2 separate regions of the Homo sapiens genome follow, and region 2 is linked to region 1. Evidence: promoter capture Hi-C in human tissues and cell types (Jung and others, 2019). All regions are on one chromosome and are shown on one strand. The core of a region is centred on a gene start or on the middle of the fragment in contact, and the rest is flanking DNA. Distances in the headings are between cores, read along the strand shown. Region 1 holds the start of TMEM67 (transmembrane protein 67). Region 2 has its middle 70 kb from the start of GEM.

Evidence for each region. Contacts are between HindIII fragments. The study calls those that stand out against the background at their distance.
Region 2: a contact is called between a fragment that was not itself captured here and the fragment with the promoter of TMEM67 in region 1, in 1 of the 25 tissues and cell types used here (mesenchymal stem cells).

The regions. Positions count from the first base shown.
Region 1 is chr8:93,748,530-93,756,231 of GRCh38, reverse strand. It overlaps TMEM67 (transmembrane protein 67), which reads right to left and starts at 1,338. Exons shown (of 28, transcript NM_153704.6): 1 at 1,095-1,338; 2 at 366-454. The coding sequence starts at 1,317. The HindIII fragment of the contact is 11,912 bases long and covers 1-7,259 here.
Region 2 is chr8:94,328,501-94,335,644 of GRCh38, reverse strand. No RefSeq gene overlaps it. Among named protein-coding and RNA genes, the nearest start is that of GEM, 70 kb to the right of the region's middle. The HindIII fragment of the contact is 4,279 bases long and covers 1,783-6,061 here.

The sequences.
Region 1 (7,702 bases), core at 89-2,588:
CCACTTGCATCAGTCAAAAGAATATACACATCCCAAATTGCACACATCCCAGACTGCTCTATATATGCCTTATTCATCTAATTTTCTTCATAACCGAGTTATTCTACGAGTAAAAACAAAAACTTAAATTTTTACAGCTTTGTGGTTTTTGGATTTCAGATTTTAAAAGAAATACATTTCTGTTTTCTCCAAGTTTGCATGAAATTTCGCTGATCTCCCAAAACTTACTCTAGTAAAAATAAAATTAGCATAGTAATTTTAAAGTCTGTGGGGAAACATTAAACATTAAATTATATTTTGAAAAATAAAGATATTTAACTTACTACTTTTTACAGGTAAGTTATTTTAAAATAAATTATGCGCACCATGTTTTCTGGGCACTTTTTACAAATAATAGCAGGTCCTCCATTATTAGAGATCATCTGAAATCCTGGTAGACATACACATGAAGTTCCTAAAAAAAAAAAAAAAAAAAAAAAAGCCAATTTTATCCTTGATAAATAAAAATAAAGTTCCCAGATAGTGAAACTTTTAATAAGTCTGAAGATCTTGAGAAGCAGTATAGTGATTAACAGCAGGATTCTGGAGGCAGTACTGCCTGGGTTCAAATCCAGAAATACACTTCTTGAGTTCCAATCGTAGTAATCCTACTCAGTTGCATGACCTTGAACAAGTTACTAAACTCTCTGCCTTGGCTTCCTCTACAATAAAATGGAGAAAAAAAATTGGTACCTACCTCACAGGGTTAGTATGAGTACAAAATTAGTTATTATACGTAGAGGTCTTACACTGGCACACAGCTGGTATTATGCTGCTACCATTTTAAGTGCAAGTATAACTAAACTATTAAACTACTTAACTGCTGCTGGAAATTTTACATTTCTACGTCACTAAACAATATACATGTATTCGGGCCAGGCGCGGTGGCTCACGCCTGTAATCCCAGCACTTTGGGAGGCGGAGGCGGGTGGATCACCTGAGGTCAGAAGTTCGAGACTAGCCTGATCAACATGGTGAAACTCCATTTACGGGGACTAGGGGCCGACCAAGGCGGGAGTGTTACTTTTGCCAGGGCCCACCGCAAACCGTCTTACCTCGGGCATCTTGCCTCTGGTTAGCTCCACAAGGAACACACGAGAGGGCGGAGATATCAAAGTACTGGTTGTTGTCGCACTTCTCCGGCTGCTGGAAAGGGAAAGAGAAGGTCTGGGCCTGTAAGAAGCGAGGGAGGAACAACAGAAGGAACGCGGTCACGGCCCGGGCGGATAAGAGGGACCAAACCGCCATTGCCACCCCAGCCCCACCGCGCGTCGCCATGGTACCGACGCTGGAAGCCTCACAGCCTCCAGCCCCCCATCAGCCTCTGCGGCGGCTTCGCTGAGCTGATTGGACAACCCAAGTCCGGGTACCGGAAGTCACTGCTCGTGTTGCTTGGTTGCTAGGTTACCAACCCTGCGCGAAGTTGGCAGGTCCAGTAAAGAATGGGTTAGAGACCGGTTAACCCTGGAGCCCAGCGATATTTTCAAACGTGTATAGAGTTCCTCTACTTACGATAGGGCTGCCCCCTCCCCGCAATAAACCCATCGTAAGTTGAAAATATCATAATTTGTCGAGTTATAGTTACATCAGAATTTATTCAGACTAGGTAATTTTCACGTTAAAGGAAACATGACTTGTAGTTTAACAATTTGATGTCAAAAAACCCCACTGACTTAAAACCCAGTGAAGGATTACTATAGCTCAAAGACTGAAAAAATAAAAAAACTTTCCTGCCAGGTTTGAGCATAGGAAATCATGTATGCGAGACAAAGTACGAAACGGAAGAAACCATGTTTGCTCATTCTGTTGCCAGCGAAATTTCACAAAGCCCCTGACTCAGTGACTGAACGCAGTCCTCCAGAAGAATGCCCTGAAGACAATAAGTAGGATAGAGCACAAGTTTTCACATCTGTTGCTTGAATCACTTCATTTTTTAAAAAGATACAGTCAGCGATCCTAGCTCTTGCCTCTTCCTGTACGTAAGATAACGTGTGACAGGATTAATGATTATGCCTCTGTAATCTATAACCAGATGTAGTCTCCAAACAAAACTTTGATGAGATTTTGCTCCAACGTAACTTCTGAGCACGTTTAATGTAACTTTTGAGCACATGCAGAACTCCATCCCTTGATGTAGAAACTGGGGGCAGAACAGCTGCTTTGGACCAGTATAACATAAACTCTTTGAAAGACTCTCCAGGGTTGCATTCCTCAGTAAGACTCCGAATAAAACTAACTTTGAGTCTTTAAAAGCCTGATTTTTTTCTTTAGTTGACATGTATATAAAATGAGATCACCTTTACACCTTTTGTGAATAAAGGAATCTAAGCCTGGTGCTGTGGCTCACACCTCTAATCCTAACATTTTGGGAGGCCACAGTGGAAGGATTGTCTGAGCCCAGGAATTCAAGACCAGCCTGGGCAACATAGTGAGACTCCACCTCTACAAATAAAATTTATTTTAATTAGCTGGGTGGGTGGCACATGCCTATGGTCCCGGTTGCTTGGAAGGCTGAGGCGGGAGAACCACTTAAGCCCAGGAGGTCAATGAGCCCAAAGGCTGCAATAAGCTATGATCGTGCCACTGCACTCCAGCCTGGATGTCAGAGACCCTATATAAAAAAAAAAAAAAATCCTGGACAAAAATATGGAAACGTTTAGAGTTAGAGACCACTTGCGAGGCTAAGGTAGAAATCTAGAGTCTAAATTGGAGCCATGGAGGAAGGGAGAGGCAGAAGAGGATGAATAAAGGAGCTATTCAGGAAGAAGAATTATAAGAATTTTATTATTTGGACATAGGAAGTAAACAAACAGAATCAAGGATAACTTCCAGGTTTCTGATTTGGGTGGCTGGGTAGACGGTTGTGATATTAAAGGAAGATACCTGTGGTAGATAGCTTCTAAGCGAAAACTTATTGGATAAAGAAAATTTTAAGGTAGAAATGAAAGTTATAGGAATATTTAACATGGTGGGAGCTAGAGGTATGGATAATAATAGAAATAATAGGTATTAATAGCTTGTTTTTGTTATCAAGCAAATGAGCTCTCTATCCAATGCATGCACAGAAGCCAATACTATGTGGCACAAGCTTTTGAGGAAAAAAAGTCTTTATTTGCACAACTGGTCAGCAAGGAGATAGGAGTGCATTCAAATCTGTTTCCCTGATTTAGAGTCTGGGGTAAACTTATGGGCTTGGAAAGCCAAGGGAAGAATTTAGGAATGTGTCTTGGCAGGCAGAATGGAGGACTTGAAATTTGACCATTTAGAAAAAGGTACGTAGAGGCCGATTTTAGGCCTGATCCTCCAGGCAAATGGACCCAACACTTTTGAAAGAGTTCCAAGTTCAGGTTCCAGTCATGTCCCGGTCTTGGTTCCAAGGAAAGGATTCACTGGTTTTGGGTGTTGTTAGAGGTCCAGGCTTTTTCTATTGCACATGACTGGGCTACATGACTTTCAGTTTTTGGCTCTGTTACATCTAAAAGGTAACACGACATTTTGTTATCAACAGAGTAGGCTCAGTTTGGGCTAGTCCCATGGAGACACTTTTAATGTGTCCGGCATTGCAATATCTCATTTGATCCTAAATTGGGACTGTTATCATCACCTTTAATTTACAGATGAAATAACCAAGGCTTAGAAAGTATAAGTGACTTTCTAAGGTCACACTTAATTCATGGTTCTAACCCTGGTAATTTGACACCAGAGCCCATACTTTTCTTCGGGTTTTTGTTGTTGTTGTTGTTGTTTTAAACTTTAATTTAGGTTCAGAGGTACATGTGCAGGTTTGTTATATAGGTAAATTGAGTGTCTCGGGGGTTTGGGGATCAGATTATTTCCTTACCCATGTGATAAGCATAGAACCCAATAGGTAGTTTTTTGATCCATACTCTCCTTTCACCCTCCACCCTCAAGTAGTACCCAGTATCTATTGTTCCCTTCTTTGTGTCCACCTGTACACAATGTTAGCTCCAACTAATAAGTGAGAACACACAGTATTTTATTTCTTTCCTGTGTTAGTTTGAGATAGGAGGTTGGCAGGACTGATTTCACAGGATAAGATCATAAAGACCTGGCTGATAAAACAGGATAGGTAAAGAAGAGGACTGAAACCTGCTAAAACCAAGATGGTGACCAAAGTGACCTCTGGCCATCCTCACTGCTCATTATATGCTAATTACAATGGATTAACATGCTAAAAGACACTCCCACCAGCACCTTGACAGTTTGCCCCTTGCCATGCCCACTTAGAGAAGTTACCCTACATGGTCTAACAAGGGAGGACGCTCCGTTCCAGGAATTCCCCACCTTTTTCCTGGAAAACTCATGAATAATCCACCCCTTGTTTAGTATATGATCAAGGAATAACCATAAATATACTCAGTCTAGCAGTCCTTGCCATTGCTCTGCCTATGAAGTAGCCACTCTTTATTCCTTTACTTTCTTAACAAACTTGCTTTCACTTTATTCTGTCAGATTGCTCTTGAATTCCTTCCTGCATGAAGCTGAGAACCCACATGGCCACTCAGGCTGAACCCTGATTTTGAGGTTTTCTCTGTGACAAGTTTGCTTTGGATAATGCAGAGCCCACACTCTTAAGCCCTGCTTTTTATTGTTGCCTTTGAATCTCTGGATGTGCTTTTCTGGGCAGGAATAAAGAAAAGCTAAAGGCAAGTAAGTTCAAGATGAGATTAATGAATTAAAATATTACAAAGAAGGTGAAAAACAGAAGTGGAGGTTGTGGTGAGAAAGGGGAATTAGTGAGGTTCAGATCTTACATCTGGGGCACTTTGTGTGGTGAACCCTGTGTTCATTCCCAATCTCCAGACACTTAGTGCCCTTTTGATTTGTTAATCTTTTGTGTGTAACTTGTTTTTTACTTTCTTGAAGTCTTCAGGATGTTCCTCTCTGTGCCCCACCTTCTCATTTTTCTTAATTTTACAGTGATGTGTCTGGGCATGTTTCATTGTCATCTTTTGTGTGGAACACCTGTTGTAACTTTGCAATTCAGCAAAGAAACTCATGTCCTTTAACACTGGGAAATGATCTCTTCTACTAATTATTCCTTTGAAGACTTTCTCTCCGTTTTTTTTTTCTTCTGGACACCCTATTTTTCAGATACTAGACTTCCTGGACTGTTCCTCTAATTTTCTCAGATTATGTTTTCATTTTTCTTTTCTTTTTTCTTTTTTTTTTTTTTTGAGACGGAGTCTCGCTCTGTCGCCCAGGCTGGAGTACAGTGGCGGGAGGCGGGATCTCCGCTCACTGCAAGCTCCGCCTCCCGGGTTCACGCCATTATCCTGCTTCAGCCTCCGGAGTAGCTGGGACTACAGGAGCCCGCCACCTCGCCCGGCTAATTTTTTGTGTTTTTAGTAGAGACGGGGTTTCACCGTATTAGCCAGGATGGTGTCAATCTTCTGACTTCGTGATCTGCCCGCCTCGGCCTCCCAAAGTGCTAGGATTACAGGCGTGAGCCACCGCGCCCGGCGTGTGTGTGTGTGTGTGTGTGTGTGTGTGTGTGTCGGAGTTTTTTTGCTCTTGTTGCCCAGGCTGGAGTGCAATGGCACGATCTCTGCTCACTGCAACCTCCACCTCCTGGGTTCAAGTGATTCTCCTGCCTCAGCCTCCCGAGTAGCTGGGATTACAGGCATGTGCCACCACGCAGGGCTAATTTTGTTATTTTTAGTGGAGTCGGAGTTTCTCCATGTTGGTCAGGCTGGTCTCAAACTCCCGACCTCTGGTGATCCACCCATCTCGGCCTACCAAAGTGCAAGGATTACAAGCGTGAGCCACCGCGCCCAGGCTTCATTTTTCATTTTGTTTTGTTTGGTTCTACTTTCTGGAAGATTTTCCTGCGCGTATCTGTCAAACATTGAATTGAACTTTTCATTTCTTCTATTATAAATTTAATTTCTAAGAGCTCTCTTTTGTTTTCTGGCTATAGCTTAATTATGGCATTCTTGAATTCTTCCATGCTGCAATATCTTATTTCCTAGAATACATTACTAGTGGTGTTTTAAAGTTTCCCTCTGTTGCATAATCTGTTTCTTCAAAGTTATGTTTTGTATAAAAGGCTTTCCTCCTAAATCTTGGGACCTTTTGCCATTTACATACATACAAAAGTGGGTGGCCAGGCGCGGTGGCTCACGCCTGTAATCCAGCACTTTGGCAGGCCAAAGCAGGTGGATCACCTGAGGTCAGGAGTTCGAGACCAGCCTGACCTAAACGGTGAAACCCCGTCTCTACTAAAAATACAAAAATTAGCTGGGCGTGGTGGCCATGCCTGTAATCCCAGCTTCTCAGGAGGCTGAGGCAGGAGAATTGCTGGAACCCAGGAGGTGGAGGTTGCAGTGATCCCAGACTACGACATTACACTCCAGAATGGGCAACAAGAGCGGAACTTTGTCTCAAAAAAAAAAAAAAAGTCGGCACACTGACAAGCTAATTAGAAGCTCTACAAAGATAGGAAGGGCTTGTTGACTGGGCTACAATGTGTGGAGTGATTTGCCTGGGTTGTTTCTTAGGGCAATCCCTCATTCTTCCTGTCCCCTTTCCCTATCCTACTGTGCTGATCAAATTTCTCAGAAAGATTCTTCTCCTTGGAGATTTTAAGCCTGGGTGTAATATTTAGAGGGTGTGAGTTTCATCGTTCACATAACGCCCTTCTTTTACATATATTAAATAGAATCCTTGTTCTTTTGCATATATTAAATAGAATCCTTGTTTGCAAATGCACTGAGAATAAACCTTCAATCTTCTGTTGGAGTTGGGGAGAGACAGGTTTCCAGGTATTGGAAGGAAAGTGCTTTGAAAGTTGATGTTCAACCACTTCTCCTGTTTTCACTCCCCTCCACAAACAGAAGATACTGTCTCCTAAGCCTTTGAGGACTTCTTTGGTGCATGTAAGATTGCTTCTTAGCTCTTCCCACTGTTAATGCAGGATTCAGCTCCCTTGGATCCATAGAAGAAATGGTCACCTATCCACTTGCTTCCCGCTTGCAAAGTTTTATTGCTGTTCCTCTTACCCTATTCTCTTTATTCCTGTTAGTTTTTGTCTTTTTAAAAGTTGCTTCCCTGTTATTTTATTAGAATTTCTGGAAGGAGTGGAGATAAATACCTGTGTTTAAACTGTCACATTAAACTAGAAGCCAAAATAACCTGTTAACCTGTCTTCACAAACATACTCTTGCCACTCTCTACTCCATTCTCCATACCTCAGCTGGAGTACTCTTTTGAAATGCAAGTCCTAATATGTCATCTGCCTGCTGGTTTTCCGATGGAAAGATCAAAGTCCTTAACATGAACCCTAACCCTCAGCATGGTCTGACTTCTTCCTGCAGCCCTGCATTGTCCTGTGTGCTCCTGTGCTCTGTACCTGCACTGGCCTTATTTTCCTTCCCTGGATGCTGCCAAGCCTTTTCATTTCTCTGCCTGGACCACTCCCTCCCCTTCCCAGCAATTTCCTTTTATCTTTTTAACTCCTACTTTCCAAGCAGCTCATTCATTACTTCTTCAGGGAACATCTCCCACCCTTCCTGACCAGGCCAGGGTCTCCTGTGAAATACTTTCACAGTACCATGGACTTCTCGTCCATAGCACTTATCCCTGTAGTAAATTCACATTTAGTTGGGTAATTCTTTCATTGGTTTTACTTTTCTGAACTGCA
Region 2 (7,144 bases), core at 2,673-5,172, 580 kb before region 1:
GTAGGCCAATGTGAAAAAAAAAAAACAGATTTAGTACAATTTTCTCCTATGATTCATAGCCTAGAAACAAACATTTCTCCTTTTTGATTTCCCAATGGTTTCTTAAGATAAATAATCCATGAAGGGACAAAATTTACATTTCTATAAATATAAAAAAGAAACTACCACTGGAAAAAAGAAGTTACTGTTTTTTTAGATGACTGTTGATTCCCAAAGCACGTGGGGTATGTCTTTTTGATTACCATGCTAATTAAGATAATTCTTAAATATTTTTATTTTAGATTGCAGCCTTATTATGGTTGCTATAAACAAAAGTTAATAACTCTTGCTGAAGAACTATTCATTCATTGCACTGGGGGTTTGAAATGTTGAATGTTTTTATAAGAAAATGAGCTAAATATAATGCATAGTTTGTACAAAATATAAATTTGCTTTTAAGAAGATTACACTGGGAGGGCGAGGTGGGTGGATCACCTGAGGTCAGGAGTTCGAGACCAGCCTGACCAACCGGTGAAATCCCATCTCTACTAAATACAAAAAATTAGCCGGGCATGGTGGCACAGTCCTGTAATCCAGCTACTTGGGAGGCTGAAGCAGGAGAATCACTTGAATCCAGTAGGTGGAGGTTGCCATGAGCCAAGATTGCGTCATTGCACTCTAGCCTGGGCAACAAGAGCGAAACTCTGTCTCAAAAAATAAAAAAATAAAAATAAATAAAGAAGATTACATGAACTCATTGTTTCTAACACTGTAAACTCTGGCTGGGCATGGTGGCTCACACCTGTAATCCCAGCACTTTGGGAGGCTGAGGTGGGAAGATCGCTTGAGGCCAAGTGTTTTAGACCAGCCTGGGAAACATAGTGAGAGCCCATCTCTACAAAAGTTAAAAAAAAAAAAAAAAAATAGCTGGGCCTGGTGGCATGCCTGTGTAGTCTTGGCTATGTAGGAGGCTGAGGTGAGAGGATAACGTGTGCCTAGGAGGTCAAGGCTGCAGCTATGATCCTGCCACTGCACTCCAGCCTGGGTGGACAGAGTAAGACCCTGCCTCAAGACAAACAATCAAATACTATAAACTCTGTTATTAAAGCTTTTTCTGGTATGAATTCCCTAAGTTTTGATCTATCTTAAACCAAATGCATTTTAATGTGTTCCTTTAGCCAACATTTATTTCATTTATTCAATAGATCTTCACTGATACTGTGAATTAGGCTTAGGCACTGTTTAAATGTTGAGGATACGATGAGGAACAAAGGTTGACAAGGTCCCTGATCTCATGGAGTTTGGGAGAAACAGACAATAAACATGCAAGTAAGATAACTGTAGGTAATATTAGACATTATAAGAGAATTAACATAGGGCATGAGAGAGAGTGAAGAAGGTGGACAGCATACAGGGGCACAGCTCCCTAATATGTGCTGAACACTGTACCAGGCCCTTGGGAAGAGGTGCCTGAGATCTGGGCTCTGGAAAAGACCAAATCCCATCTCTGCTCAGAGGCCAACTTACCATGAGCTAATGCTGCTTCAGCCTCAGGGCCTGGCTTATCATGAGCTAATGCTGCTTCAGGTTCATTTGCATGTTACATAATGTTCTTGATGGAAGCCAGGTGGCAACCAGGGAGTGTTTTCAATATAAATATTTTAGGGGAATTGTCCAAAGCCCTCTTAGAAGAAAGGGGCTTGCATATCTAAGGCTCAAGTAATTAGTTGTTTCTGTTCTCATTCTGAATATTCTCTTTCTTACCTAATTTTGTATATGTATACTTGTATACTTGAGATCTTTTTCTTTAAGAGAGCCTGCTTACCCCAACTTGTATAAGTTTCAAGCCCTGTGTAACCTGGTTTTGTTCTTGGCTTAGCCATTGTCTACCTGTGTGAGTCTAGGCAAGCTATTTAAACTCTTCATGCCTCAGTTTTCTCATTTTTAAAATGGAAATATTACCTAAATCATCAGATTGCATGAGCATTAACTGAAATTAAATAATATTTCAAATGTTATACCTAACACCTGGCACACAGTAGGTACTTCATAAGTGGTAGCTATTATTAATATATTATAATTATTAATATTATGATTATAAGCCCTCAAAAGTTTTATAATTCTGTTGGGGAAAAAAATCAACAGATGTAGATCCATGGGATACTAACACAGAACAGTCTCAAAAAACAGAACAAAACAAAAACAAAAAAACAACATCAACAGGATACACACAAATTCTTAATAAGTAGTTGCCAGTGCCTAGAGAGGGAGAAGAATGGGTGTAGGAATAAAGAGGATTTCCAGTAAACCTGTAACATTGTATTTCTAATTCAATCTGAAATAAATATGATAAATATTATAACATTATCCTTATACTTTAAAAAAATTAGATATTTCAATAAATGGTAGCTATTAATAATACATAGGGAGGTTTGATTAATAACCCAATAATCTGGTATGTTTTGTTTATAGGAACATTGTGCTTTTCTCATATGAAGCTTCCTCTGGGCATGGTAGCACAGTTCCTCTAATCAACAAAACTAGCAACCTCAGTGTCACAGTTCCAATATGTGATTGAATGTAACTTCATAAATGCCTAGTATGGTATTCAATGTTGGGTTTGGTGGAATAGCCAAAGCAAATATGCTCACAATATTAAACTCTTCCAAGATTTCCCTGTGTCATTGGAGAGTGGCACAAAGTAGCATAAATTGACTGGGGCTGTCCATGAAACTATTACAAATATGAAGAGAAAGGAGAAATCAATGTGTGCTGCAAACATCAATGAGAGCTTCATAGGACGTGTGATGTGAATTGGACTTTGGCGATGGGGTAGCTTTGGATAGGTGGGCCAGATGGCTTAGTATTCTAGATGTCAGAGGAGAAGAGAAATGTCTGGGAAGAATAAAAAACCATGTAAGGTTGGGTGGGAGGGAGACATGGAGGTCCTTAAGAAGAGCCTTAATGAAGTGTTGAAGAGTTATAAAAGCCTGTAAGCAATAACAATTTGAAATTTCATTTAAAAAAATTGGATTGGTATTGAAAACATATGTAAAATTTTGTCTCTGTCAGTAGTTCACTTCATATTCTAGTTGGCTAAACCTTTGGTTCTGATATGATTTGGATCTGTGTCCCCACCAAATCTCATGCTCAATTGTAATCCTCAGTGTTGGAGGTGGGGCCTGGTGGGAGGTGATTGGAGATCATGGGGGCAACTTCTCATGGTTTAACACCATCCCCCTTGGTGGTGTTGTCACAATAGTGAGTTCTTGTGAGATTTGGTTGTTTAAAAGTGTGTGACATCTCCCCCGTCTTTCTCTTGCTCCTCCTCTGGCCATGTAAGATGTGCTTGCTTCCCTTTCACCTTCTGCCATAAGTGAAAGTTTCCAGAAGCAGAGCAGATGCCAGCGTCATGCTTCCTGTACAGCCTGCGGTACTATGAGCCAATTAAACCTCCCAGTTTAATTAACTACCCAGTTTCAGGTATTCTTTATAGCAATGTGAGAATGGACTAATGCAGGTTCTAAAGCCACAAAGAAGAGAAAATATTTCTTTCACCTTGGCACTGAATCCTTGGGTCACAAGTATGAGAAGTGACTTGGTCCGTCATGACTTGCCCAAACAATTAAGACTAGGGCTGATTCATTAATGGTCTGTTTTATTAATAATGGTTATTCAGCTAACAGAAAGGGAATACTTCCCAGACAATAAGGATGTCTAGAAACCAGCTTTAATAGGGCGTGGGTAACCCTGAATATCAGGACAAGGACTGCCCATTGGAGTGGGGGTATCCACCATATTCTAGGCAATTGTAGACAATAGATACTGCACCTAAATACATGTCTGTATGGCTAGACAGGGGAATAAGAAGTTCCAATAGTGAAATGGAGGAAATTTTTAAAATATTAAACAAAAAGCATTCCACTAAGAAGAGGGTCTTATGTAACTACCCTAACCATTTAGGCAATTTGAGTTAATGTCCTACTGCCTAACACAGGCCTGGGCATCCTGTCATGATTTCACACCGCTGTAAAGAATGGACAAGCAGAGAGCAGCAGGATAGATAATTACAAACAACTTCCTGGCTGAGGGCCAAGGATCACTTTGCGAGGAGTCAAGGTCCAGAAAAGATCAACAGGTGAAGACAGCAGCAAATCAGATATCCAGCCAGGGACACACTGAGCTTTGCGTTACTGTTGGGGAAAACTGGTCTCTGTTAACTCAGTTTAGACTGTGCATTGTTCCACATTCGCTAATAAAAATGGGCGTTAGATATGTTTCACACATTTCACACATTGTAGAAATGTTAGCAGGATGCATGTGGTGATTTGATTGTTATTCTCTTGAGATTTAAAAAATTTCAATCGCCTCTACTTCTCTCCTCTCCTCTCCTCTCCTCTTCTCTCCTTTTCTTCTACCTTCTGTCTTTCCTCCCTCCCCCACTCTAATAAGTATAATAAAAACACTGGACCTTTAAAATTCATATATACTGCTTTTAAATGGGTAACTCTAAGTAACAAAGTTAAAATGTCATGATAATTTTTGGACATAAGTGTTAAAAGAAAAACTTTAGACAAATTTAATAGTTTAATTGGGCAAAGAACAATTCATGAACCAGGCAGCCCCCAGAACTAGAACAGGTTCAGAGAAACTCTGGGGCTGTCAAATGGTCATACACCATTTTTGGACAGAAAAAAGAAAGTGACGAGCCAGGTGGCTCACGCCTGTAATCCCAGCACTTTGGGAGGCCAGGGCGGGCAGATTACCTGAGGTCAGGAGTTCAAGACCAGCCTGGCCAACATGGTGAAACCTCGTCTCTACTAAAAATACAAAAATTAGCCAGGCGTGGTGGCACATGCCTGTAATCCCAGCTACTTGGGAGGCTGAGGCAGGAGAATCGTTTGAACCCTGGGAAGCGGAGGTTGCAGTGAGCCAAGATCGTGCCACTGCACTCCAGTGTGGTGACAGAGCGAGACTCTGTCTCAAAAAAAAAAAAAAACCAAAAAAACAAGAAAAAAGAAAGTGATGTATGAAAATGGAAGTGAGGTGCAGAAACAGCTGGCTTGGTTACACTTTGGCATTTGCTTATTTCAACATGGTTTGAAGAGTTGGCCACCTGTGATTGACTAAAGTCAAGCTGCTGTGATTGGCTGAGACACAGCTATTTGTTACAGAAGAATATTCCTAAATGAGGCTTTCAGTTTATTTACATACAAAGTTAGGTTGCAGTTTGTTACATAAGGACTCAAGCATGCAAGTACAGAGGCTTTGTCTCAGGCCAAGTTTAGTTTGATTTAACAGTTCTCTCCTTTTGGTCAACATCTCCATTTTGAGAGACTGACCCAAACTTTGGGCATTGATGCCACCCTCTGTCACTATCATAGGTGGACTTGTTTGGTCTCTGTGGAATTCACAAATCTTATTTGTTCATAGTATAAAATTCATAAGTTGCAATGTCACATCAGTTGAATAATTATGTTCTTGCTGAATTAATCAAAGTGAGAGCATTCAACACTCAATGAATGGCTGCATACAAAATTTTTAAGACTTGAGAAGATATAGCATACCAGCGGAACTAATATGATGACAATCAAGAAGATAATACCAAAAGACCAAAGCATACTTCTTAAGAGTCCTTATGAAATGAATCAAACCAAATCAAACAAGTCAAAGTTCAGGCAATAGAGGCAGCTCTACAGTATTTGCAACTAATTGATTATAGTCGTTGTTTGGGGTGTTATGGTGATTAAGGACCATAGTTTGCTGTAAAATGGCCTGATTTAAAGAGTGGTTGACTTTTGTTGTTAGCCTGGTAACACAAGTCATAATAACTTGGAGACCCACTAGAAGAAATATGAAGATTAGAAAATCTTGAGAAACCCAAGCTTATTATCCACCTTTAGAATGCCTGCAAACCAAATGTTAGTTGCTCTTGTAAACACATCCTATGTTTCTTTCTCTTGAAAAATTTCCTTAATGTATTTGATGGCAGTGTCTATGGAAACAGCAGTATTAGCCACCTTGTAAATTAAGCTTTCTGTACTAACAAAATCAGAGAGATGGGTACAGCATACATTTTTATTCAGTACCAATCATAAGCCCCAAATTGAAGGAAAAAGGAGATTTAAAGCTTTATGATATTTTATTGCGTGGTGTTTATTGAACATGTATGTTATTATTCACCTTTTAGAGAGTGGCTTCTACATGTCTGAAGCCCTGGGAGATCTGATTGACCACAAACTTGAAGATTTTCTCCAATTTATAGATTAGCTTCAAATTCCATACAATCAGTACTCCACTACCACCAAGAGTGAGCCCCCAGATACCCCACTGGAATCTTTCCTCAGTGGAAACTAGCTTAACTTTGTCTGTTTGAAGGTTGATGATAATTTTGGTTATTGACCATTTTAGCCTCTGATTATAGGAGCTATTATGGAGACTTCCAGGGGAATGAATTTGACAGGCAGGAGTGAGCTACGCCAAATAGCAAGATCCAAACAAGCAAGGAGACAGAACAGAACAAGCAGATTTTCTGAAGATCTGATATAGGCCTTTGGGGGTTGGAAAGAGGGCCACCTAATTGTGTTTGAGCAGAGGTCAGTCAAATTTGATAGCTTCCAACAAGGTCCAGTGGAAAATTTACTTTTTGGTGGCCCCTTTATAACATACTGTAAGGGAATATAATCACATTTAATGAAAAAAGATTCTATTGAATTTAATCCAGTGACATTATACAATTACTTGTACCCACATAAGTAATTCCAAGGTCTTGAGTGCATGATGTCTGGAAGCACAGTATATCTTTTGCACGCACCACTCAGATAGGTTTTCTACATTTGGTAACCATCAGGTTAATTGGAAAGGTTAGAGTGTTGGTTCTAGTGAGTATAGAAAGCAAGTAACAGTGATGTTTAGAACAGCAAAGATAGCTTTCAGCTATCTTCCTGTGGAATTTCAGCATTACTCTCATTGGGAAGATGGAGAGGTATTGGCACTGATGGAAATGTTTCCTGTTTTTTGTTGTTGTTGTTGTTTGTTTGTTTTGATATTAGCCCACAAACCCAATGATTGCTCTGTATTTTGTACTATAGCATAAGCTATAGCTAAAGCCATTCACTGATTATGGCTCCATGGATTTTCCTGTAAGGAAAAGGAAAGGATTAGG